Linked DNA regions of Homo sapiens: all the other regions are linked to region 1. Evidence: promoter capture Hi-C in human tissues and cell types (Jung and others, 2019). All regions are on one chromosome and are shown on one strand. The core of a region is centred on a gene start or on the middle of the fragment in contact, and the rest is flanking DNA. Distances in the headings are between cores, read along the strand shown.

Evidence for each region. Contacts are between HindIII fragments. The study calls those that stand out against the background at their distance.
Region 2: a contact is called between a fragment that was not itself captured here and the fragment with the promoter of KPNA3 in region 1, in 1 of the 25 tissues and cell types used here (hippocampus).
Region 3: a contact is called between a fragment that was not itself captured here and the fragment with the promoter of KPNA3 in region 1, in 1 of the 25 tissues and cell types used here (thymus).
Region 4: a contact is called between a fragment that was not itself captured here and the fragment with the promoter of KPNA3 in region 1, in 1 of the 25 tissues and cell types used here (spleen).

Annotation. Positions count from the first base shown.
Region 1 is chr13:49,791,111-49,797,370 of GRCh38, forward strand. KPNA3 (karyopherin subunit alpha 3) reads right to left here and starts at 1,572. Exons shown (of 17, transcript NM_002267.4): 1 at 1,328-1,572. The coding sequence starts at 1,396. RefSeq lists enhancers at 87-606, 611-1,272, 1,273-1,934, 1,738-1,867 and silencers at 728-1,297, 1,418-1,667. The HindIII fragment of the contact is 11,550 bases long and covers 1-6,260 here.
Region 2 is chr13:50,800,583-50,806,395 of GRCh38, forward strand. It overlaps a transcript of DLEU7 not described here. Among named protein-coding and RNA genes, the nearest start is that of DLEU7-AS1, 4.4 kb to the right of the region's middle. RefSeq lists enhancers at 664-713, 784-883. The HindIII fragment of the contact is 3,253 bases long and covers 2,895-5,813 here.
Region 3 is chr13:51,081,163-51,087,452 of GRCh38, forward strand. It overlaps C13orf42 (chromosome 13 open reading frame 42), which reads right to left. Exons shown (of 4, transcript NM_001351589.3): 3 at 4,157-4,397; 4 at 957-3,163. The coding sequence ends at 2,989. Among named protein-coding and RNA genes, the nearest start is that of C13orf42, 27 kb to the right of the region's middle. The HindIII fragment of the contact is 3,186 bases long and covers 958-4,143 here.
Region 4 is chr13:50,992,356-50,998,501 of GRCh38, forward strand. It overlaps the pseudogene GUCY1B2. Among named protein-coding and RNA genes, the nearest start is that of RNASEH2B-AS1, 85 kb to the left of the region's middle. The HindIII fragment of the contact is 7,435 bases long and covers 423-6,146 here.

The DNA.
Region 1 (6,260 bases), core at 322-2,821:
TCCCTAGGTTCTTTCCTACTAGTATTTAATTTTGTAGCTCTGAAAAACGGCCTGAGTTTGTCTGTTTCTCTACAAAATAGAACACTGAATGGTATATTTACCCCACAACCTTCCTTAAGACAGGATAAAACACACCTCTTAATCACACTAGCTTATCAAAAATTACAAAACTGCAAATCATGTCGCCTAGTATTAGCAAAGAAGGCTGCGGCCTTAAAACCATTTTCCCCCTAACAAATCCAAAGGTCACGGTCCCAGTGAAGTTTGTGCATTATACTTACTGTTTTCAGTAGCTGCAGAGAGACCTCTAGCGCTGCCTCAATAAGCCGAGTTTGCAAATAGTACCTGCTAATGTCACCTTAATGAGACAATGGCAACATGCTGAGTAGCAACTAACTGAGTGACCGCGATGAATGTTTAGTTTTGCAACCACTTGGAAATTCTACTAGCTTGGAGCAAGAGGTATGTAAGAGAATTATGAACCTGTGTATCCAATTTATTTTAGTAAAACGTGTCAAAGAAATTATCACCCTATGCACACCCCACTCCAAGAAAGGCTAAGAAAACAAGTCCTATGAGCGGAGGTCGGAGCAACCTCTTTTCCGAAGCCTGAACACAATAGATGGCAAACTATTGTCCACCTTCAGCTCGCTCCAAATGCCAGCAGTTGCAGGAGTATGAGCTGCAACAGCTCGGCACGACTAGTCCAAAGACGAGCACTGGAATATAAGAAAATGGTCCTGGCGCATCCTACCCTCCCCCATCGATCACCCTCAAACAAGTCAGTTACCCGGCTGGTCCCCACCCCCCTCTGCGGGCCGCCACCGCCCGCCTGGGCCCGGCTCGCAGAAGGTAGGAGCCCGGACCGGCAGAGCCGAGGCTCCATGTGAGCCGCGCGGGAGGCGCAGAGGGGGCTGCACCGGACGGAAGGTTGCACCGGTGGCGGGCGCAAGCAGCGGCCGCCCCCTCGGCTGTGCGGTCGGAGGGCCCGGGCGGCAGCATCCCCGTTCATCCGGGCGGCCCTGGCCCGCGGACCCCGCCTCAGCTCCACATCCCCTCCTCGCCGACACCAGGCCGCGCCCGCGTGACGGGGCCGAAAACGCCGGCATTTCCCGGTCGCCGCGCCGGCAGCTCCGGGGGGTGACTGCAGCCCGGCCGGCGTCTCGCCGCCCGCTCCGCCCAGCCCGGGGCCGCGGTGACGGGAGGCGGCGGCCAACTCCGGCCGACCACAAGCCGACGAGAACCAGCCCGGCGCCGGCCCCCCGCCCCTCCCCGCGTCGCCGGGCCGGCGCGGCCAGGCGGGCCCAGACCGCGGAAGCACACTCACTTCCACATCGCGGCCCTTGTTCTTGAAGCTCTTGATGCGGTGGTTCTCCAAGCTGGGGTTCTCGGCCATGGCTGCGCGCGGCTCCGGCGGCGGCTACTCCTGCGGCTGCGGCGGCGGCGGCGGCGAATCTTGGAGCGGGAGGGGGAGGAGGGGGAGAGCGGGAGGGGGGAGGGGAGAGAAGAGCACGTTCTGTGACGCCTCCGAGCGCGAGGTGGCAGTAGCGCCGGGGGAGGCGCGGGCCGACTGCCGGGCCGGGTGGGGCGGGAACGGTGCTGAGAGCGGCGCGCGGCCGCGGAGGCTGGCGACACGTGACCGGGGGCGGTGACCGGCTTGGGCGTTCGCCGGGCTATACGTGCCCGTTGGTTCTCGGGATGACCCTGCCCTCTTCCCCTGCAAGGGCTCTCCACAACCCCTCGGTGCTGCAAGTTTTGTGCCAGAAATGGAGCCGGACCTGGCGACTTTTACTGCCCCTCAGGCGCGGGGCGGCGGTCGTCAACTACAGTTCCCATCATGCCACGATCCGCCTGGAGTAATTCTCCACGCCTAGTGAGAACGAGGAGAATGCCGGGACCCTTCCGCGCGCGGCTCTTTGCGCGCCGCGCTCATGTTGCTGGGCACAAAGCTCCGCCCCCACAAGGCCGCCTCTGGGCGGGGAAGAGCGGGGGAGCGTCCCTGGCACCTTGCGCCCTATCAGGAGGAAGAGGGCGGGCCTTCCTGGGAGCGCACCTCGCTGCCTGTAGCTAGAAGATCAGAAAAGGAACAACCGCGAGTGCTTTGCAGTCTCGCTTTTTTGGGGGTCTTCTCAAATAGCCACCTTCATTCGCTCTTCCCATGCTCTGCTTCAGTTTTATAAATAGCATTTCTACCTGACATGTACATGTGTATGTATGTGATACGAGTGTTTATATGCGTTACCTAGGTGCCCGCGCGGAAATTCAGCTCAATGAGAGCAGGTACTTTGGTTGAATTACTGCTGAATCTCTAGTGTCAAAACAATGCCTACCACGTCGTAGATACGCAATACTTGTTGAACTGGCGCTTTAGTGTCGCCCAGTTTCTTCATCATCCTTCCAAGCCCGGTTCTGCAACCTTCACTCTGGCAGTCCCTGTATTTACATGCCCCCCAACACTTCTTGTTCTACCACCACACAGAATCTTAGCCTTCAGGCAGCAGCCCAGCCCTGGTCCGCAGACTCTCCTGTGTAGCACTCCCACTCCCTCTGGGGGCATCGAAAGAATGAAAGAGGGAAATTTGGATGGATTACACTGATAAAGAGCTGCTTTCGGCCGGGTGTGGTGGCTCACGCCTGTAATCCCAGCACTTTGGGAGGCCGAGGAGGGCAGATCACAAGGTCAAGAGACCGAGACCAGTCTGGCCAACCATGGCCCGCATGGTGAAACCCCTTCTTTACTAAATATACAAAAATTAGCTGGGCGTGGTGGCGCATGCCTGGAGGCTGAGGCAGGAGAATCGCTTGAACCCGGTAGGCGGAGGTTGCAGCGAGCCGAGATGGCGCCACTGCACTCCAGCCTGGCGACAGAGGGAGACTCTGTCTCAAACAAAACAACAAAAACAACAACAACAAAAACAAAAAGCTACTTTCTGGAGCAGGTGGGCTTCATTTGCTTGTATGTTAATTTTCAGAATCTATGGTAGACATGAGCAGGTATGTAATGTTGTAGTACTTATAATTGAACTGAGGTCAAAAGTTGGTAGGACTATACCATGAAGAGATCAAAAAGGACAATCTTTAAAGCGAAAGGGCCTTGGCTGGGCGCGGTGGCTCATGCCTGTAATCCCAGCACTTTGGGAGGTCGAGGTGGGTGGATCACAAGGTCAGGAGGTCGAGACCAGCCTGGCCAACATGGTGAAACCCCACCTCTACTAAAAAAAATACAAAAATTAGACGGGCATATGGCGCATACCTGTAATCTCAGCTACTTGGGAGCCTGAGGCAGGAGAATTGCTTGAACCTGGGAGGCGGAGGTTGCAGTGAGCTGAGATCGTGTCACTGCACTCCAGCCTAGGCGACAGAGTGAGACTCCATCCCCAAAAAATAAAAATAAAAAATTCAAACAACCCAACAAAAACATGCAAAGGACACTGATCACAGAAAAAGAATAAATATATGAGGAGATACAGAAAAAAAAAAAAAAAAAAAAGCGAAAGGGCCTTAAAGAACCTGAGGCCCAGAAGTCAGGAATTCAGAAGCCTTTGGTGGCCAAGCTATGTCCAGGGGCATTCGTCTTGTGAGTGGTGGGGTGTGGCCTATTGATAAACACAGGCTTCAGATCCTCTGGTCATACTGGACTGTGGCCCAGTGTTGCCAGAAGATTCCACTTTTCAAGGAAAACCAAAAAGGTAGATTCTTTTTCTCTTTATTTTTAAATGTTAATTCACATTTTGTTAATGGACTTAAGCATTTCAGTCACTTCAGAATATCAGGTCCTCAGTTTGCAACACCTGATCTTAGTCTAACCACTCATTTGAAGGGAAACACACACACACACACCAGCTATGAATTTAGAAGGAATACATTAGGCAGGGCACAGTGGCTCATGCCTGTAATCCCAGCACTTTGGGAGGCTGAGGTGGGAGGATCACCTGAGGTCAGGAGTTTGAGACCAGTCTGGCCAACCATGGCCCACATAGTGAAACCCTTTCTCTACAAAAATACAAAAATTAGGCAGGCATGGTGGTGCATGCCTGTAGTCACAGGTGCTCAGGAAGCTGAGGCAGGAGAATCGCTTGAACCTGGGAGGCGGAGGTTGCAGTGAGTTGAGATTGCGCCACTGCACTCCAGCCTGGGTAACAGAATGAGACTCTGTCTCAAAAAAAAGAAAAAAGAAAGAATACATTAGCTCAACTCTGGGTTTTAAGGAAACAGAACTTGTGTGTTTGCCATTCTCCTTGGCTAAATGGAAGAGAAATTTTCAGACTGTTGCTCAGTCTCTATTATAATTTAGTAGGTATTCCCTTTTCAGGTTACTTTATGCCACCTTTCTTCACACCCAGTCCAAAGCAGGGCTGCCCTTTTGCCTGGATCTAGTTTACTCATTTTTATTCTTTGCCAGTACCCCTGGTAACTTCAGCATTCACAAATGTGGCACCCTGACACCACAGTCTTTCTACATCCTTAACTTCACCAAGTTTTTTACCACTCAAGTGGTAAAAAGTGCAAGCCTGCACCAGACCTTGGAGACCTTAATCTCTGGGAAATGACCACCTCCAGGGACTCAAATTTGGTGCTTCTCATTGTTAGAAACTATCTCCTTCTCTTTTGCCTCACTCTAATCATCATCCTTGGCCTGAAACTTCTCTGGACAGCTCTTCTTTTAAATGGATTTATTTTCCACACATATTGTGAGTGTCTACTGTATACCAAGCATTGTATTCATCGGGCACATGTATGAAGGACTAGGGGGTCTCGGGGGAGACAGGAAGGAAGGGCCCTCAGCCCAGGGGTCAATCAAATCCTCTGACTCACTCTCCACCTTCCCAAGGCATGGGGAGTCATGCCAGCAGTCAGTCAGGTAGCAGTATGCCGTAGGCAACACAAGCATAACAGATGGGAAAAGGACTTCATGATTTGCCTCCTAAGTCAGCTTCTTTCTGCAAACTCACCCCTCTATTACTGGCATAACCATTCTTCCAGGGACACCTCTCCAAGCTAAGAGCCGTCTTTACTTCTTGTCTCTCTCCCTCAACTCCCTCACCTAGTCACCATGTTAATTCACCACTCAGTGTTTCTGGCATCTCTCTCTTCTTCCCATGCCACCCACGAGACTACCTTAACACCTCCTAAGCAGTCCACCTGCCTCCCCAATCCCTCCACAGCAATCTGACTCACTTCTCCAGATCTTCCTGACTTCATCTCTGCTCCCAATCAGCATACCCTTCTCCTCTGCCATTGTCTGTCAAATCATTTATAAACTCAGTCTAGGGCCAGGCTCCGTGGCTCACGCCTGTAATCTCAGCACTTTAGGAGGCCGAGGCGGGTGGATCACCTGAGGTCAAGAGTTCAAGACCAGGCCAGGCGCAGTGGCTCATGCCTGTAATCCCAGCGCTTTGGGAGGCCGAGGCAGGTGGATCACGAGGTCAGGAGATCGAGACCATCCTGGCCAACATGGTGAAACCCCGTCTCTACTAAAAATACAAAAAAATTAGCCAGGCGTGGTGGCGGGTACCTGTAGTCCCAGCTACTCGGGAGGCTGAGGCAGGAGAATGGCCTGAACCCAGGAGGCGGAGCTTGCAGTGAGCCGAGATCAGGCCACTGCACTCCAGCCTGGGCAACTGAGCAAGACTCCATCAAAAAAAAAAAAAAAAAAAAGGAGTTCAAGACCAGCCTGACCAACATGGTGAAACCCCGTCTCTACTAAAAAAAATACAAAAAGTTAGCCAGGCACGGTGCCAACGCCTGTAATCCCAGCTACTTGGAACGCTGAGGCAGGAGAATCGCTTGAACCTGGAAAAGGGAGGTTACAGTGAGCCGAGATCGCACCACTGCACTCCAGCCTGGGCAACAAGAGCAAAACTCCACCTCAAAAAATATACATATTAAAATAAATAAACTTGTCTAGTGGTTAAGATCATATGTGATGCAGCCACAGTGCAAGATACTTTTTTCTTATTTTTGGTTCCCCTGCACATTGCTCATGCTTCAGCTAACATGTTCTGCTCACCTTTTTCCAAGTATATCTTAACCTTTCCAGTTTTTACATCTTTGCCATTTGACTTGCTCAGATGGCCCTGCCTCTGTCTCTGCCTGTCAACATCGCTTCCTCTTTGAATACTCATCCCACATGGTCACCTTCTCTATGAAGCTTTCCCAGCGTGGTACTGTGGAAGGATCTTCAGAACCTGAAAATTCAGGTCCCAGGGCTGATCCTATCAGATCAAGCCCAGGTAAGTCAATTATCTGCCCTCAATCCT
Region 2 (5,813 bases), core at 3,271-5,770, 1.0 Mb after region 1:
ATAGAACCTCAGGGGTTTTCCCGCACATTAAAACTTCTGCCCATCCTCCCCTCCAGCCAAATCACGTTAATCATGATGAAGACCAAAATAATCGTGCTGAATGAATGTCCAGGAGCTTAAATATTTGCTTTGGACAAATACTCTGCTTGGTGCTTTATACCCTAAATCCTCGAATTATGGAGAGGAAGCTTGCAGCCCTTAGGGAGAAGAGAGAGGCGAGGTGAAGAAAGTACAGAGATTTCAATGGCCTCTTGGACTTTTCTGTCTCCTTATGTTTTCCTGGTGTTTTAGTGGTTAGTTTTGCAGCATACAGTGCTAGGCTCTTCCCTCACACTTTATGTTTCCCCATGTGGACAGTATCTAGAGATTAATAAGGAAGGCCCACTCTGAGAGTGACCACTAGCAAGCCAGCAGTGGGGCTGACTCTCAATTTGGAATGAATGTTTGAAGAGGCTTTTCACATTTCATAGAAATGAGGATTGTGACTCTACAGAAAAAGTTGTTGTCTACAAGAAGGTCCCTTTACTCTTGGGAAGCAACTTTAGCTGTCCTCTCCTTGCTTTTTCAAAACTCGCTTAGCTAATAAAGAGACCAACATGCTCATCTTGGATCCCAGTACCTCTCAGTGGAGAGGAATTTGGGAGGGGAGTCGGTTTGAAAGGCAAAGTGAGCTCTCGGTAGCTGAAGCTGCATAACTACACCGTCACCCCTCCATCCACCTGCTCCCAGTGCAGCAACCCTTCCTGAGGTCGCTTCAGATGTTTTCAGCTATTCCAGGTGACCATTCTTTAGCAGCACGGAGCTGTTGTTCATACTTCGAAGTGTCATCAGCCCCACATTTTCATTTTTGAGTATCCCTTTTCTGAGCAGAGACCGGTCTACTGTGGCAACATAATGCATCCAGTTAAGGCAAGAGATTGACGACTCAACACTGACCTCCACTGGTTGGCATGGAAATACCTAATCCCTTTCGTTCAATGCCTTGGCCATTTTCACGGGGTGCACAGGGAGCCCTCAGCACCTTGCACTGCACTGTTGGTTGAGATTTTACATGATTTTAAATTACCTTCCAAGGAGCATATATGTAGATTCTGGAAAACTCTGATCCAACATTGAGACCTCAGCGCGCCCTTGTACCACCACAAACCACAACATCATTTTGTTTACACCAAGTTAGGGAGTTCAAAGTTGAATTCATGAGAATCTGAGAAATCTATGTCAATCTGTTTCCATGGTAGTGTTATTAATGACTATTCAATTGCCAATAGATTTATTATTACCTTTTAAATGCCTCAAACTCCAATTGGCCATTGTAACCCCATTTTCAATTGGTATAATAATCTTGCCTGCAGAGAATCTGTGCCAGATGCTGTGTTGCCAATGCCTTAGTTGTCTGGAGGTGGGCAAGGAAGGCCCGCTTGGATCAGTGCCACTAAAGGTGGGCTGTGATTCTCCTCATGGGGGTAGTCAGGACTTGGAACCAGCCAGGATTTCAGGAGAGAGACAAGGCAAAATGAACAAGGGAGCCTCTATACACTAAAAAAAAAAAAAAAAAAAAAAAAAAAGGCACAAGCCCATTAGTTTAGTTTTCTGGGAACAGGCCTGATGCAGTTTAATCCAGAGTGGCTGGCCTCTGAGGAACTGGGCACTTGTTGATTTCAATAGAAACCCAACTGATGCTTCTCCACCCAGGAAGGTACAATCAAGTTAAGAGAGCAATTGGTGAAAGAGATTATGATTTGGAAATACCTCCCATTTGGTTCCACTAAACAGAGTAGGTCAGAAAGAAAGAACTAAGCAAAACCATTTAATTAGTGCTCCTGACTCTCAAGAAAGCTGGAGCCAAAAATGAAATTCTTAGATAGCAAGCCCATGTTCTTCATATTGGTGTCTTCATTTAGAAAGCGACAGTACCTATGTCAACAGCTATGTTGAGAAATATTAAGCAGAAATGAAGAAAATGCAATATATATCAAAAATTGAATAAAATTTTCTCCATGGTTGTTCTTGTTTCAATGCCCTCAAAAACTAATTTAAATATTTTATTTAATTTTGAATAGGTCATACATATTTGGGGTACTAAACTTGGATGGCACAAAAGGATATACACTAAAGAGTAACTCTCCCTCTTATCTCTGTCACTGAGACAACCAGTTCTCCTCACAGGAGGCGACCTGAATTACTAATTATATATGGATATTTCCAGATATGTTTTATATGTCTGTACATGTGTATATCATACATGTACATGTACTTTTTTACACAGTTGGGACCACGCTATTTATACTTATCTGTGCCTTGTCTTTTTATCCACATAACAATAGAGCTTAAATAGGCTTCTACATTATTACATAATATATTTTCTTATTAGTTTTTATCACACGGCACTTCATTGTGTAATGTTTCATAATTTATTTAACCTGTTCCCTATTGATAACGTTTAGGCAGTTTCAGATTTTTACATGTATAACCAATAGCCTAACAGGTCATTGGTACATAAATCATTTCACACATTTGCAAATACATCTGTAGGAAACATTCCTCAAATTGGAATTGCTAGGTCAAAGGTATGTGCATTTGTCATTTTGATAGATATTGACAAATTTCCCTCAACTAAGATTGTACGAATTTATACTTTAACCATCAGTGTGTGAAACGACTCACTCTCCCCTTCCTCATGGACTCAGCATGTTATAGAATGTGTTGATCATTGTCAATCTGATGTGAAGTAATATTTTCTGATAATTTAACTTGAAATTCTCTCAACTTTAGTGAATTAATAATGCTTTGCCCTTTTTTATTAGGTTGTTAGACATTTCCTTATTGATATAATTCTCTCTATATTAGAATATTCTACATTAATAAAATTAACCCATTAAAGTGTGTCAAATATGGTAGCCACCAGCCCCATGTGGCTCTTGAACACTTGAAATGTGGCTAGTTCCAATTGTGATGCACAGTAATTATAAAATACACACCAGATTTCTTGGAACAAAAAGGAATAGAAATATCTTATTTATAATATTTTGTATTGATTACTTATTGAAATAAAATTATTTTTGATATGACAAATTAAATAAAACATATTACTAAAATTAATTTCTTTAATTAAAGAAAAAAGGTGATGCATTTCTTTAAAAAACAGACTTCTTTTTACTTTTTACACTAACTACTAGAAAATTTAGAATTACACGTGTAGCTTACATTGTATTTCCATTGACAGTGCTAGTCTACTATGTGAGCTGCAAATTTTTTGCCCAGTTTATTTTTATATTGTCAGATTCATCAGTTTTTTGTTATGACTTCTGAGATTTGTAATGGACTTAAAGAGATCTTCCTTACTACAATACTTTTAAAACTTTTCCATGGTGGGTCCTAGTATTTTTATATTTTTATTAACGTGGAAATCTTTGATTCATCAGGAAATCATTTTGATGTAAGGTCTGAGGTTAGAATCCAATATTAATTTTTTAGAGGGCTAGAATGAACAACATTTATTAATTTCACCCTTTTCCCACTAATTGAAATGTCATCACGTCCTAAATATTTTAATGTCAGGTAGGGCTAGTACCATGTATTTTCTATTTTTTCCCCTGAATTTTCCTGGTTATTCCTGCTTGTTTTTTTCCTTTATATGAACTTTAGAATCATATATAGACTCCCAAATTTTATTGATATTCTTATAGGACCTGTATTAAATGTTTATATTTTTTTAGAGAGAATTGAAAACTGTCTGATACTGAGTTTCCCTCACCAAGAATATAATATACTTTTATATCTGTTCAAGTGTTCTTTTGTGTCCACAAGAGACAGTGTAATGTTGTTCGTTTTATGGGGTTTTTTTTTTTTCTGTTGTTGTTGTTTTTGTTTTTGAGACAGAGTCTCACTCTGTCACCCAGGCTGGAGTGTGGAGTGCAGTGGCATGATCTCAGCTCACTGCAATCTCTGCCTCCTGGGTTCAAGTGATTCTCCTGCCTCAGCCTCCTGAGTAGCTGCAACCACAGGCATGCACCACCACACCCAGCTATTTTTTAAAAATTTTTATTAGAGATGGGATTTCACCATGTTGGTCAGGCTGGTCTCGAACTCCTGACCTCAGGTGATCCGCCAGCCTAGGCCTCTCAAAGTGCTGGGATTGCAGGTAGGAGCCACCACGTCCAGCCAGTTAAAGATTTTACATAGGTTTTCACATCTGACAAATTTATTCTAAATATTTTCTAGTGATATTGCTATCAAAAATGAAGTATTTTCTTCTATTATGCCTTTTTTATTTTAATATAGGAAGGATGATGATTGTATATATTTACTTTATAACCAAAGACCTAACTGAATTCCACTATTGTTCTAATATTTTTTTTCAGTTGGCTCACTTTTTATATAATAAAATTTTTACTTTTATAATCTACAAGCAATTATTATTTGTCTTTTTCTTTTCTAATTTGTATACATTTTCTTTCTCTCTTGTAAAACTGCATTGCTTAGGATGTCTAGATCAACGTCTATGAATAGTTGTGGTAGTAGACATTCTTGTCTTGTTCCTGACATTAATATAAATATTTCTGAGTTTCCTTATAGATTATAGCACTAGCTTTTAGATTGAGATTAGTATATTGCACTAGGTTAAGGAAGTATCTATTGCCATTTATTGACAGTTTTGTTTTGTTGTTTATTTGCTTGTTTAGTAAGAATGGATGTTGGAGTTTATCAAATGTCTCTCAGCATCTAGAAACATGATTTTTAATCTATTAGTGTGGTAGAAATATATTAATAGATTTCCTAATATTGAACCATCCTTGCATTCTAGAATAAATATAATTGCTCATGGTGTGTTAGTTTTTTAATGTGTAATTGGATTTTGTTTAATAATGCTTTATATTCATAATTTTTGTGTAATAATCCTAACAGTTATTGTTTTATTATTTTGATTTTCTTCTTCAAGAACACCAATTATGCATATGTTTGATTTTTTTATATATTTTGCATCTATCATATAACCCTTTTAAATATCTTTTTTATTTATTCTTTTTACTCATTTTTTTCTAATTCCGTCTTCCACATGTCTAGCTATGCTTTCAGCAATGCCCTGTCTTCTTTGTGCAGTTTCCTACCACTTCTCATTCAGCTTTATCGCCTTTCCTTTTTCTAGAAACCTCACCACTTTGAGGCCCAGGGAAGCACTCAGTCAAGCTGACACACCCTTATTGCTAGAGAACAAATATCAGCAAACTATAGCCCATTGGCTAGCTTTCTTTTTTGGGAAGTAAAGTTTTATTGGAATATAGATATGCCCATTTGTTTATTGTACATGGTTGCTTCAGCACTACAGTGGCAGAATTTGATAGTTATGGCAGAGACCATATGGCCCAGAAATTCTAAAATATTTACTATTTGGTTGTATAAGAAGTGGTTTGCTGCCCTCTATTGTAAAAACCTCCATTTACATTTCAGTATGTATCACTTAGAATTGTGCTTTTATGACTTTCTTGAAGCTCAGAATCCACAGGCATCTTCACTCTGGTACTTCCTATGTCCTATGCCACTAAGTCTTCTCTCTCTCTCATTTAAAAATCTCTGTTGTTTCCTAGTTTTACAAAGGATAAGCTTTGCATTACTGTTTTTCTTGATTCCCTTGATGTTTTGGTTGGTTTTTCTGAGATATGAATAAGAAAATACTCACTTAGCTCTGCATGTTAAAATTGGAAGTCCTCAGATAATATTCCAAGAAATTATTTTTTATTTTCATCTTTGGTTGGTTGTTTTTTGACCATTGGATAGAGATCTTAGCATACTAAATGTCTTTATCCTGAATATAT
Region 3 (6,290 bases), core at 1,301-3,800, 1.3 Mb after region 1:
GGTCAGGAGTTCGAGACCAGCCTGACCAACATGGGGAAACCCCGTCTCTACTAAAAATACAAAATTAGCCAGGCATGGTGGCACATGCCTGTAATCCCAGCTACTCAGGAGGCTGAGGCAAGAGAATCACTTGAACCCAGGAGGCAGAGGCTGCGGTGAGCCAAGATCGTGCCCATTGCACTCCAGCCTGGGCAACAAGAGCAAAACTCTGTCTCAAAAAAAAAAAAAAAAATCCTTATAAATGGGAAGCAGGAGCACAGACTGAGCAGGTGGAGACATGATGATGGAATCAATAGGTTGGAGTGATGCAAGGATGGGGTCACCAGCCAAGGAATGCAGGAAGCCCCTGAAAGCTGAAAAAAGCAAGGAAATGGATTCTCCTCTAAAGCTTCCAGAAGGAACACAGCCCTGCCAACATCTTGACCTAACCTGGTGAAACTGATTTTGGTTCTTCTGACTTCCAGACTGTAAAAGCATAAATATATATTGTTTTAAGCCTTTAAGTCTGTGGTAATTTATTACAGCAGCAACAGGAAACTCATTCTCTCTGCAAAGGCGAACAGTGGTGAGAGGAACACAGTGTCCTGTTAGAGACACTTTGGGCTCTGTGTCTGAGAATGGGCACCAGGAAGGTCGGTCTTGGCAGCAATGCTCTCAGTTGCATGGCACATGGCTGGGTACACACGATTCAAATCAAACTAGCAGCTCCATGCATCTTGCCCCATGAAGCAGAAGACAGTCTGTAGCGGGAGCTAGAAACCAGGTGCTAAAAAACAAGCCAGATGCCACGGATGCACATCCTCTCTTTTTGACATTCTGTCTAGGGATAGGTAGATTTTCATGTATCAAAACTGAGAATCCTGGGAAAGCCAGAGATCTAACATAGCCTCAGTGATCAGCTTGATTCCATTGAATAACTGGCCAATCCAAGGAAGAAAAGAATCTGTCAACTCAACTGGGTTTTCTGAATTGACTTTTATTGTTTCAGATTTCATTTATCTCAAACCCCACCAGACACCATCTCAAGATTCCCCAGGCAGAGCACAGATCCTTGGGTTTATCACCAACTTCAAACACCTAAAAATGATCCCCAAAGACAAGACAACCTTCTGTTTCCCAATCATGGAATTTTTCAGGCTGTGTATAGTCTCATGAAAGACAAAAAACATACAAAACAAAGCAAAATAAGACGGCACAGCTTCATGTGCCATAAGCAATAAATGCTTTTTAAAAAATCAGGACTCCAAACATCCTCGCAGTCATGTTTATTTTTTCTTATCTTTAAAAACAAAATGTACACAGTATCTTCACCACATAATTTCAGGGTGGATCTATGATAAACTGTAGTTTGATAAGAGGCAGAGTAAAGACACCTTTATCCTGAGTTTATCCCCAACAATGAACTTTTATAGATGAGGCTTCAAACAAGGCCACATTTAGGGAAAATAAAAGATCTGTGGTGATAAATGGCAGTGCTTTAATGCAGTTTATAAAACAAATCTCCTAAACATTTACTTTCCAGTCAAGCTTCTGGCTATAGCTGGGTTAGTACAAGCAACAAAATGAAAGAAACTTTCCAAACATTGACATTGGCACTCGAAAAATAATAAAGAGAGGTATTAAAACATTTCTAGTATGGTTTCATTCTGAAAACATGTTGAGATAAAATTTCTAAGAATGCAATATAATTACTAGCTGTTTTTTATTTGTAAGAGTTACATATTCTTAGATTCATATGATCAGGTTCACATAAACAAAAGGTTCTTCCTAAAAAATGGAACAATAAGAATATCATCCCACAGGCATGGCAGAAAGGAAGCCTCTGTTCAGTTCTTAGCCTGACCTTAGCCTAGAACATCCTTGGCTTAATTCAAATGATTGTGGTTTTCTTTGTTTTGTTTTGTTTTCTGTTTTTTGTCTCTCTCCCTTCCTTCTGCCCAAAGACCCTTATACATGCACAGACTGGTTTACAAGAAAATGCCAAAAAAAGAAGTGAGAATAGATAAATTTCAGTATATTCTCCAAACCAGTGGTTCTCAAGCTTGAATGGGTACAACTATTGCAAAAATGTAAAAAGTATTTAGAAATACAAAGAATATATTTTAAATGTAATTCTGATTCAGATAGTTCCTAAAATACAGAAATCCTTTCTATACCAAAAGAACGTAATGATTCTGATTGTTCTCTTAACTGGGGAAAGGGAAAGGTGTGGCCTGTCATAAACTGGTTCCATGGATATTTAAAAAGATTTTTCTGGGTAAGAATTAGAAGAAAAAGAAAAGAATCACCCCATCTCCCTTCTTCTCTTGTCAATTGCCTATGTGAAGGGGAGCTGAGTTTTGGGGCCTGAGGAAACAGTGTGGCCCCCAGGCAGGCTCGTGACATACCCCTTCCCTCACCCCATTGCCAGGGCATTAGCCTCATCTTAGCTTAATGCAGCAGGAGTTTCTGGAAAACTCTGAAAAGAGAGCAAAAGGAGCTGCTTTCTCAACTGCATTCTGCACACAAGACGGCAACCTCAGTGCAGATCCAGCATGTCTCTGAGCCTCATAGAAAGAGGAGCTACCTCTTTGAAGCTTTGGCCCAGAAATCTACAGGTGAGTTCATTTCTGGTACTGAGCACATTGCTAGCAGCCACCTGGACAGACACGTGGAGAATGAGGACCAGGCCAGGTGAGGTCAGGGGAGTGAGCCCAGACACTCCACTCAAGACCTTCCATTCCTTCAGCTCTTGAAGACCAGCCAGGCTGTAAGTCCCTGGTCATCAGCCCACGCAGAGAAACTCAAGCTCTGAGAGTGTCCTGAGACCTGTCCCCTGGGAAGCCACAGGTCTGTTTGGCACTGGCACGGCACCAGCAGGCAGTGTGCTGAGTGGGTTGACTGTGTTACAATTGGCATTTTCAACTCTACCAAATACCTCATGCTGCGCTGAAAGCGGACAGCTTCTCAGGGACCCAGTCTGAGACACGTCAAGGAATCCAGATGGAGTCAGGGCACCGTCCGCTCCCAAAGTCTTTCTCGAAGCAGCCACTGTCCTTTGGGGTTCTCTGTCTCATAGTAGTCCTCCCCAGGAGACAACTGGGGCTCCAACGCAAAGAGCTCTGCATCCCACTCCATATCTTCTCCTGAGAAGTTGAAAAGGATCTGTCTGGAGCTCCCCAGGCTAGAAGGAAGGAATGAGGCAGGAGGTTTAAGTTCGGCTTGGCCGGCCACACAGAGGGAAGGGATGCTCAATGACCACCATTCTCATGGAGACCCTCAGATTGCTGCCCTAGTCCTGGGTCTTGGGGAGGACCAAATGGTGTCGCCATGGGGGCCATGGGTGGACCTCAGCTGGACCTTGGCCTGGCCTTGAAGGGGAAGGACGGGTGGTGAGGGCTGGGTTGTGATTTTAATATGTCCAGTGCATGGTCTGTTACTGTGGAAGGGAAATGCTATCTAGAAAGCCCCTAAATCCAACAGGGTTTAGTGGCTTTTGTAGAAGCAAAGGAAGACAGCTGATGAGGCTTGACAGGCCCTTCCGTTGTGACAGGCAAGGCCCTGCAGCATGGCCTGGGTTGCCCAAACCCAGAAAGAGCTTACTGCTCTGAGCGAGTGGATAACAGGAATTTGACGGTTAGTGATGGTAACTAGGCCTGGGGGAGGAGGATCTAAAAGGAGACAGGCCAGAGGAGATGGTGGTAAGATGGCCCAAGAGGGGCCTGGCCAGCAAGACGTTCTACATCTTGGAGCCTGCCCGGTGCATTTTAGAGAGGGGCATCTGATTCATTTGATGTTGGTTTCCTCTTGGTGCTATGCTCTGTTGAACCTCAAACTCATTAAAAGTCTGTAGCATGCCATGCGTCAATGGCACTGGGGGGAAATCCATGAAGGTGGATGGCACAGTGCATGGGCTAAGTGGGCCAGAAAGAAAGGGAGGCAGACCCAGGAAGAAGCAAGTTAGGAGCAGTGCACCAGGCTAGAGTGCAGACTACCAAAAAAAAATGTTGAAACTAAGACCTCACCACCACCAGCAACAACAAATATATATATATATATATATATATATGAATAATATTTGGCATGTAAGATGGGGCTGGAGGCACCTTAAGGATCACCCCAAGCGTCTGGAGGCCACGAGAACATCTTGGTCATGCTATTTAGCCCAAGCACTTACTCTTTTTTGCAGGCTTTGGGCTTAAATTTCCAGGTGTTGAAGGCCCCTTCCACAGCCTTGGGCAAATAAATGGGGTGCCTCTCGAGTCTCCTCTGAGTGCCCACGGTCCTGTGCTCGGTGCTCCTTCGAAACTGGCCGTCTACAGTATGCACAGTGTGGGCAGCGATATCCTCGGAGTGTCTGCGCGGTGCCCGCAGGATCCAGTTAGAATGCAAGCTGTGCTCCCTGGAGCTGGTGGCCACTAGAAGAGAAAAGCATGTGACCCAGGAAGGAAGGGCTTGCCATTGGGAGGCGCATAAGGCAAAGGAGAGGGCGGATTGGACTGAACACTCACAGGAAATGGGTGTAGGCAACCATGTTCCTAATAGCCAAGCAAAGCAGATTTGACTCTGCAGTTGTGGTGCAGGAGGAATGCAATGGAATATATGTCCATTAAAAATGGGGACATAGGCCAGGTGCGGGGGCTCACGCCTGTAATCCCAGCACTTTGGGAGTTCGAGGCAGGCCAGTCACCTGAGGCCAGGAGTTGAGACCAGCCTGGCCAACATGGTGAAACCCCATCTCTATTAAAAATACAAAAATTAGCCGGGCGTAGTGGCAGGTGCCTATAATCACAGCTACTGGGAAGGCAGAGGTAGCAATGAGCCGAGACTGTACCACTGCACTCCAGCCTGGATGACAGAGCGAGACTCCGTCTCAAAAAAAAGGCCAGGCGTGGTGGCTCACACCTGTAATCCCAACACTTTGGGAGGCTGAGGCATGTGGATCACTAGGTAAGGAGATTGAGACCATCCTGGCTAACACGGTGAAACCCCGTCTCTACTGAAAAATACAAAAAATTAGCCGGGCGTGGTGGTGAGCGCCCGTAGTCCCAGCTACTCGGGAGGCTGAGGCAGGAGAATGGCGTGAACCTGGCAGGCAGAGCTTGCAGTGAGCTGAGATCGTGCCACTGCACACAGCCTGGGCGATGGAGCGAGACTCCGTCTCAAAAAAAAAAACAAAAAAAAACAAAAAAAAAAACAAGAAGACACAGATCTATATTTATGGGCTTGGAAAGTAGCCCAAGATGTATTGTAAATTGTTAAATGAAAGGACATCCTAGTTTTATGGCAAAAAAATTAAAATGAGTTTGTGAGTTTGTGTGTGTGTATGTGAGAGTGTGTGTGTGTAAGAGAGTGTGTGTGTGAGAGAGAGAGTGTGTGTGTGTGTGTTAAAACCACACTCAAAAAGACATATCCCCAAATGTTACCGGTGATGATTATCTCTGGGTGGCAGTTTTGCAGGTCATATTTTTTACTTTCTTCTTTATGCTTTGGTATGTTTTTTGTTATCAGAGGAGAAAAGTGGTCATTTCATGAACTTAATAAAAATGACTTGGTCACATTCATTTTTATTAAAAATTATAACTCTGAAAATGACCCTTGCATCCTTAGTGGATTTTGTCATCCTTTCACCAATATCCTGAATTTCCTAGGCCCCCTCACTCCCAGGGGCAGGGCTGCTGTCTGTCAGGGACTGGAGGGGCTGCGTGGGAGAGGAGGAGGATAAGAATAAGCTTGGGGAGCAGAGTTAACCTTCTGTGAAACTGCAAAGAACCCAATTTGAAACCCCAAATCCCACAGATACACATCTATCAAGGCCAGAACAACAACAACAAATCACAAGCTTCTTTCAAGCATTAGAGAAAACACTCATGAATTATTTAATATTGGTACCAAAAGCTCTAACCTTAGTATAAGGGGCCAGTGAGCCCCCTGAATAAAACTATCATTAATTTACACCATGGTGGGCAAGTCAAAGATTAAACAAACTGTCTGACAGTCGCATGATGGAATGTAAAGGGTGCTCAACTGATGAATGTGTTTGGATTCTTTGCTCTCCATCAGGAGGGGTGCCCAAGGACACGCCTTGGTGAGGAGGGAAGCATGAACTCAGGCCTCACCCCACTCCAGCTCCAGCAGTCCAGGCTGGGTCTGGGCAGCCACCGTGGGCCTCTCCTGCCCTATGCACCACCCTACTACCTAGCCTACGTATGGTCAGAAGCTGGATTCTCAAATACAGTTTGTCCATTTCATTTCTTTTTTTTAAGTTGTGGTGAAGTGTACAGAACATAAAATTTACCATCATCACCATT
Region 4 (6,146 bases), core at 2,890-5,389, 1.2 Mb after region 1:
CTAAAACCACAGGCTCTGGCTTTTCTTCTTTCTAAAAATGAAACAGAAAGCCACCACCCCACCAACTGTTTTGCTCTTTATCTCCCAGGCAATGCTACCACATAACAGGGTTCCTCGTTCTGTATGGGATTCTCACTCACAGCAGAGCTAAGGATTTCAAAGGAAACCGTATCACTAAAGTAACAAGAGCGTGAGCTCCAACATCGTTCCTTGCCTCCACTTAAGCAGGGAGATCAGTCACTCAATAGGAGCATTTAAGAAAATTTTAAAATGCTAGCATTTAAGGAGCACTTACCAAAGTGTCGGCCCTGCCTCTAAGCGTTTTGTGGACATCTCAGGTAATCTTCATGACAACCCTATGCAGCAGGTTCTCTGATTACCCTTATTTTACAAATAGGATGCCAAGTCCCAGAGATGTTAAGCAACTTTGCCAAAGTTGCACAGCTAGTCCCGGGTCCATACCACCAGGCTTTCCCACCTCTTTTGATGGTGTAATAACTGAGCTTTAGGCTCCCTATTTTGGCTGCTCACCAGTGGTGCCATCTTGGGCTACTAAGTCTCCCTGAGTTCCCATTTCCTTGTCTGTCAAGTAAGGACTGGAATAGTGGTCTTATAGGGTTGCTGTCAGGAGCAGAAGTAATGTGTAACATACATGCATGCAGGGCCAGTGCCCGGCACATGTTTGAGGCTCCATAAATGTTAGTACAGATGGTCCCCTGATGGTTTGATTTAACAGTTTTTCAACTCTACAGTGGGTTTGTTGGGAAGTAATCCTGTCGTGTGTCAAGGAGCATCTGAGTTAAGCTAGTTTGATTTACAGTTTCAACTTTACCATGGGTTTATCAGGATATAAACATTTTATCAGGATATAAACCTGATGCATTTTTGTATTTTCAGCTTACAATGGGTTTATCTGGACAGAACCCTCATCGTAAGTGGAGGAGCATCTGTGGTTATTACTACTGTAAGCATTGTCATTATCTTTGTGCTCTTAGATTTCACTGAATTCTCACACGCACACATGCACACATAAAACTATGAGGTAGGTGGGGCAGCTGTCACTAACCCCATTTTATAGCTGGTGTATCAGGTGGTAAAGCTTGGGCAAGAACCCCCATCTCTTGACTCTGCACTTTGTCTAATCTGAGCTTGCTGTTTCCCGCTGGACTGCAGGTCACACCTGTCCATTTCTAGACACCAAACACAGTTGCTGTCTAGAAAGATTGCAGCAAGGAATTCAACCCTTGTCACTTTCCCTTTGTCTCCAGGCCCTGGGATTGGCTGAAGACAGAGCCAGGTCCTGCCTGTGCCCTCCTGGGAATTGCTGAGACAGTTAATGCCTCTTGGGACAAGTAAGGTACTAGCTTAAATGGATCACAAGCTCCTGTGTGCCCTTAAGATTTTCGTTAATGTCTAGGTCAAAAAAAATACTTATTTTCTTATCATCACGAAATGCAGATGCATAGCCCCATCTCATGCCTCGCTTCTCCTAGTTGGGATAGCCTCTGAGAACATTTCCAACACTCTTCTTTGCAGAAGGTATTCTGCACCTACAGCTGGAAGCAGGAGACGAACCGGCCAAAGGTGTCTTGGCTGTGCTCTGCCTTCTTTCCTTAGCTTTCCTAACTCTGCCTTTCCGGTGATTTTCATGTTTTCCCTTTCATTTTACATTCAGAAAATCTCTGGGGAATGCAGCTTTTGTTCTGTTGCTTCACGTAATTCCCAGGGCAGGGAATGAAAATTATTTGCTTTCACAACTTCTGGCTGAGTGCCTTTCACAGCCTGGCTGTGTTCTGGGGTGATTTATAAACTGCAGAGCCTGGGTCTCTTTCCTCCTCCTTTTCCTCCTCCTCCTCCCCCCCCTCCCCCTCCCCCTCCGCCTTCCCCTCCTCCTCCCTTTCTCCTTCCCACCACCCTTTAAAACAAGGTGAGCCTCCAGAGTCAGGGTGTCAGCCACTGGGGCTCTTGTTCAGGCAAAGGTTCAGTGGAACCATAGTGATGAGAGCTTGAAGCCATTCATTCCTGTTAGAAGAAGACAGAAATAGGCCTCAAGGCCGAACTTACGTCTCTGAGAACAAATTTGACCCAAAATCTCAAAGTTTAGGGTTGGCTTTGAACTAAGAATATAAAAGCACATTTTCCAAACTTGTCAGGATTGTGTTTCATTTCTAGACTTTTATTCTCAAAGGGATGATGAGGAAGAGACACGGCTTAAGAAGTTTTGAGCTGAGAAATGAAAAGAAGTCACTTTTCTTTGCTGCCACAGAACTAAGTAGGGGGAAAATTAAGCCCAGGGGTTCATTTAACCTGTTACAACAAAACACAGAAACCAGACGGCAAAGTGTCATTTGCAAGGTGATGTGTCTTTGTCGGAGCTGAAGGCTGTCGCCGGTCGGCTGTCTCCATGGAGTCCCCATCTGGCCCTGCACTCCCCACAGGGATGATTTCATCAGGAGCTGAAAGAACACAGAGGGGTGAGCAAGTGATCGAGCCTCAGACTGTCTGTCTGGGCCAGACCCTGGGGAACACGTGTGGACACTACGGGCCTCCTTTTCTACTCAGTGTGATCCTGGACAGGAAGAATTCTTCACAGCCAAGGCCAAACAGCCCGGACAGACCACTGCCTTGTGGCTATATGAGTTCTTTGAACTGCCCTGTGCCATCTTTTTGGTCATACCCACATCTTTGCTTCTGCATAACTCACACAATAGCACCAAGTCTCCTTGTCTTCTGGCCTGTGGCTGTCTGTGACTTCTGAGCAGCAGACACGGAGGCTGAAGGTCAGAGCCAGCATTGCCACTACTTGACCTGTAACCCTGGATGAGTTACTGAAGCTCTCTGGGCCTCAGTTTTCCTCATATGAAAAATGGAGAAATAACACCTGCCTTCCAGGGTTGTTATGATCATTAAACTAGATGATTTATACCAAGTGAGTCACGCAATGCCCCATAGAGCACAAACTCAAAGATGCCAATTAGTATTTCTAAGCATGGGAGGGAGCCCTGGGAGAAGGCCCTGGAGAAAAACCGCCTCCGGGACTGTGAGCCAAGGCAAGAGAGAGAGTGGGATCAGAGAAGGAATGGGATAGAGGCCGGGTGGAGGACACTGAATCTATCTCCTCCCGCGTTCCCTGCAGTTTCATTTGGAAGGGCAGCGTCTGAGATTTTAAAGTCATATATCATTGCCATTTCCTTTTTTAAAAATATAAATCATTGTCCCAGAGATATTCAAGTTCAGAAAGGCGCATGTATTAGGTCTGAGGCTCACGTACATCTAGTATTATAGAAAGCGGGAAATCAAGAGGGGCTCCTGTCTTCGGCCTTCTCTTCCCAAAATAATGGATGACTTTTTTTTTTCACTATTAGAGGCTGTTAGCACTCAGACTTCATCCTGAACCTGGATTAGTGATCGGTTTTGTTTTAAGATCCTAAGAGCACAAACAATGAGACAGAAACAGGCTCCATTCGCTAATGCACTGCTCATTGAGGAATGTCAGTGATGACATACATGTGGAAAATTTGGGGCTACCAGACCTCTCCCCAGTCTCATCTCAGTCTCAGGCCCAGAATGAGGTGAAAATTGGAGAGAGGGCCCTGGAGCAGAGAAAGGGGGATTCCTGGGACATGTAGGGCCATGTCACTGAGGCAACTTCCAGCAATGATTTACAGGAAGCGTTTAGCTCATGCATATATTGGGGCCAATCTGAAAAGGAATCAAGGTTCATGAAACTCTCAACTGTGACATTTTATAGGGTATGGCGCAACCAGAGTTAGCTAAGTACAGATATCATTAGCTATATGTTCATTTGATTGCTATTACATATTCTCTCTCTCTGACACACACATACACACACACACACACACGCACACACACACGACTGAATTATATTCAGCAGTATTTTATGCTCTTTGGAAACTGTTACTTATTCAGATACAGGATGTTTTGTTTTTGCTTTTTGCTGATTCTCTACTAATTTTATTATTCCCAATACTCTCTTTCATTTTGAATTATGGAGTTTATTGCAGTATTGTATTTTTTGAGATGTAAAAACTATTATAATTAGAACTAAATTTTTCAAAAATGGAAACATGCAGGTTAAATGATAAAAATAGTGTATTTGTGAAATTTGGGTTCCGTTTTGTTTTGTCATCATAGCAAATAGAGAAAAAATGAGTTGATTACAGATGGAAGTGTAATTTTTTTCTGTTGAGAAGACCTGGTCATCTGCCTCCACATCCATCACCACCCAACAGCACTACAAAGAGCAGCTGAACTCTCCCCCAATACTCCTCTGTGCCCCAGTTTCTCCAGATGTAAAACAACACCACACAACACATCTGTCTCCCCCTCAACTCAAAGAAATGTTATAAGAATCTTTGAGAGAAAAAAATATCCACAAAAGTGTTGTGATCCCAGAACTTATTTGTTTTGTATGTTTGTAATTGTATGAAAAGTGGAGGTCACTCTAGTGAAAATGAAAACTGAGCTGGAAAGGGCTGGAATTGCTAAAATGAGCAGAAATACGGTAAAGGAAACCATTCCCTGTACCCAGCAGCTGTCAGGCTGTGTTCATGATCTGCTCTTGCTTCCTGAGAGCACCATGATTTCTTTGTAACCAAAAGGAATAATCTATTTTCTGGCCTAACCTCTCATAAGGTATTTTGGAGTAAGCTCAACACTAGGAAACAATATTTTACAGATATCTTCGTCTCCTCTTTATTCAACACTCTAATTTTTTCCCCTTGCAATTTCTCTTCTCAGAAATGTAGCTTTTCAGCGTTGATTCATCTCTCCTGCCTCATAGCACATTTTTCTCTCTTCTAGCCTGACCATTTTTCATTTCTCTCACTTGTATCTTAACTGGATCTTCCATCTCCTCCACTTCTACTCCTATTTCCTTTAAATTCATTTTCTTCTTTCCCTTTTCTCTCCCTAAAGAGTGAACAGAGAACAGACAGAAAGGACAATCAGCTAGGACTGTGCTGAGAAAATGAACTGAAACAGCACAGTGAAAGTTGGACAAGCCAAACCTGACTCCATCAATTTGGGTTGATGCCTCTGACAATTCAAACAAGACTTGGTCAGCGCAGAACTGCAAGGCTGTCTTGGAATTTTCACACATATATGTTTGACATTCTACTCCAATTCAGTTCCACAATCCAGATGCTGGAAGAATTTTGTTTACTTGAGATGGATTCTCGTCCATCATCTTTCGCTCCCACAAAACCATTGTTCACAACCCCCAAGGACTGCCTATGAGTACCATCATTTTGTTACAGTTAATGCTCATTGTTGTGCACAGTTGGGAAATGTAGCCTTCTGGTTAATTACATTTTCCAATTAATAGAAATTACAAGGTACATCTTCCATGTGTTGCTGACATCTAGACACCTGGGATACTCTAAGCACCAAAGCTAACTTGAACAAGTTTAGTCTTTCTTGGAAAATTTAGAGGAAACTTCAGGACTCATGGAACATCAAGGGTACCAAAGTGTGTTGTAGATGTGGGTAGTATAAGATAATTGGGATTTTCATTTGGTACAATGTAAAAGTGGTTTGGGGGTATGTAATAGCACAAGTCACATGGGAAATAAGGGTACCATGTGAAGCACATTATATCTTTTTAAAATTATCCTCCTCAGTATTATTAAGTGTTTAAATGTTCAAAGGAAAGAAATTCATGCCCTGCCAGATTACAAAACAGTATATACATGACAATTCCATTTTTGTAAGAAAAAGCATGTCTGTATACACATATACACAGCCTCCCATATAAAAGTCAGGGAAGATATGACCCATATTTTAATAGTAGTCTCTCTGAATGATGTAATTATAGGTGCTTTGGTTTTCTTCTTTTGGTTTATCCATACTTATTAAAAATTAAATATTTCTTCTATAATACAAATAAACAAATAGTCTTTAATTGGAAAAATCACATAGCTCAGTATTAAAATCAGCACAGAAATCTATCTCAATGTAGATCAAGAACAGATTAAATGAAAAGAATGGTTGCAGAAGAAATCTTCCCATTTGGAAAACACCTATCATGTGAGATTGTCAAACACAAACTTGGAGGCTGGGGAGTTGGGGGTGGTAGTGGCTGCAGCGATAGCAGCATGGAATGTGAGGAAATGCTGTTGCCTTGG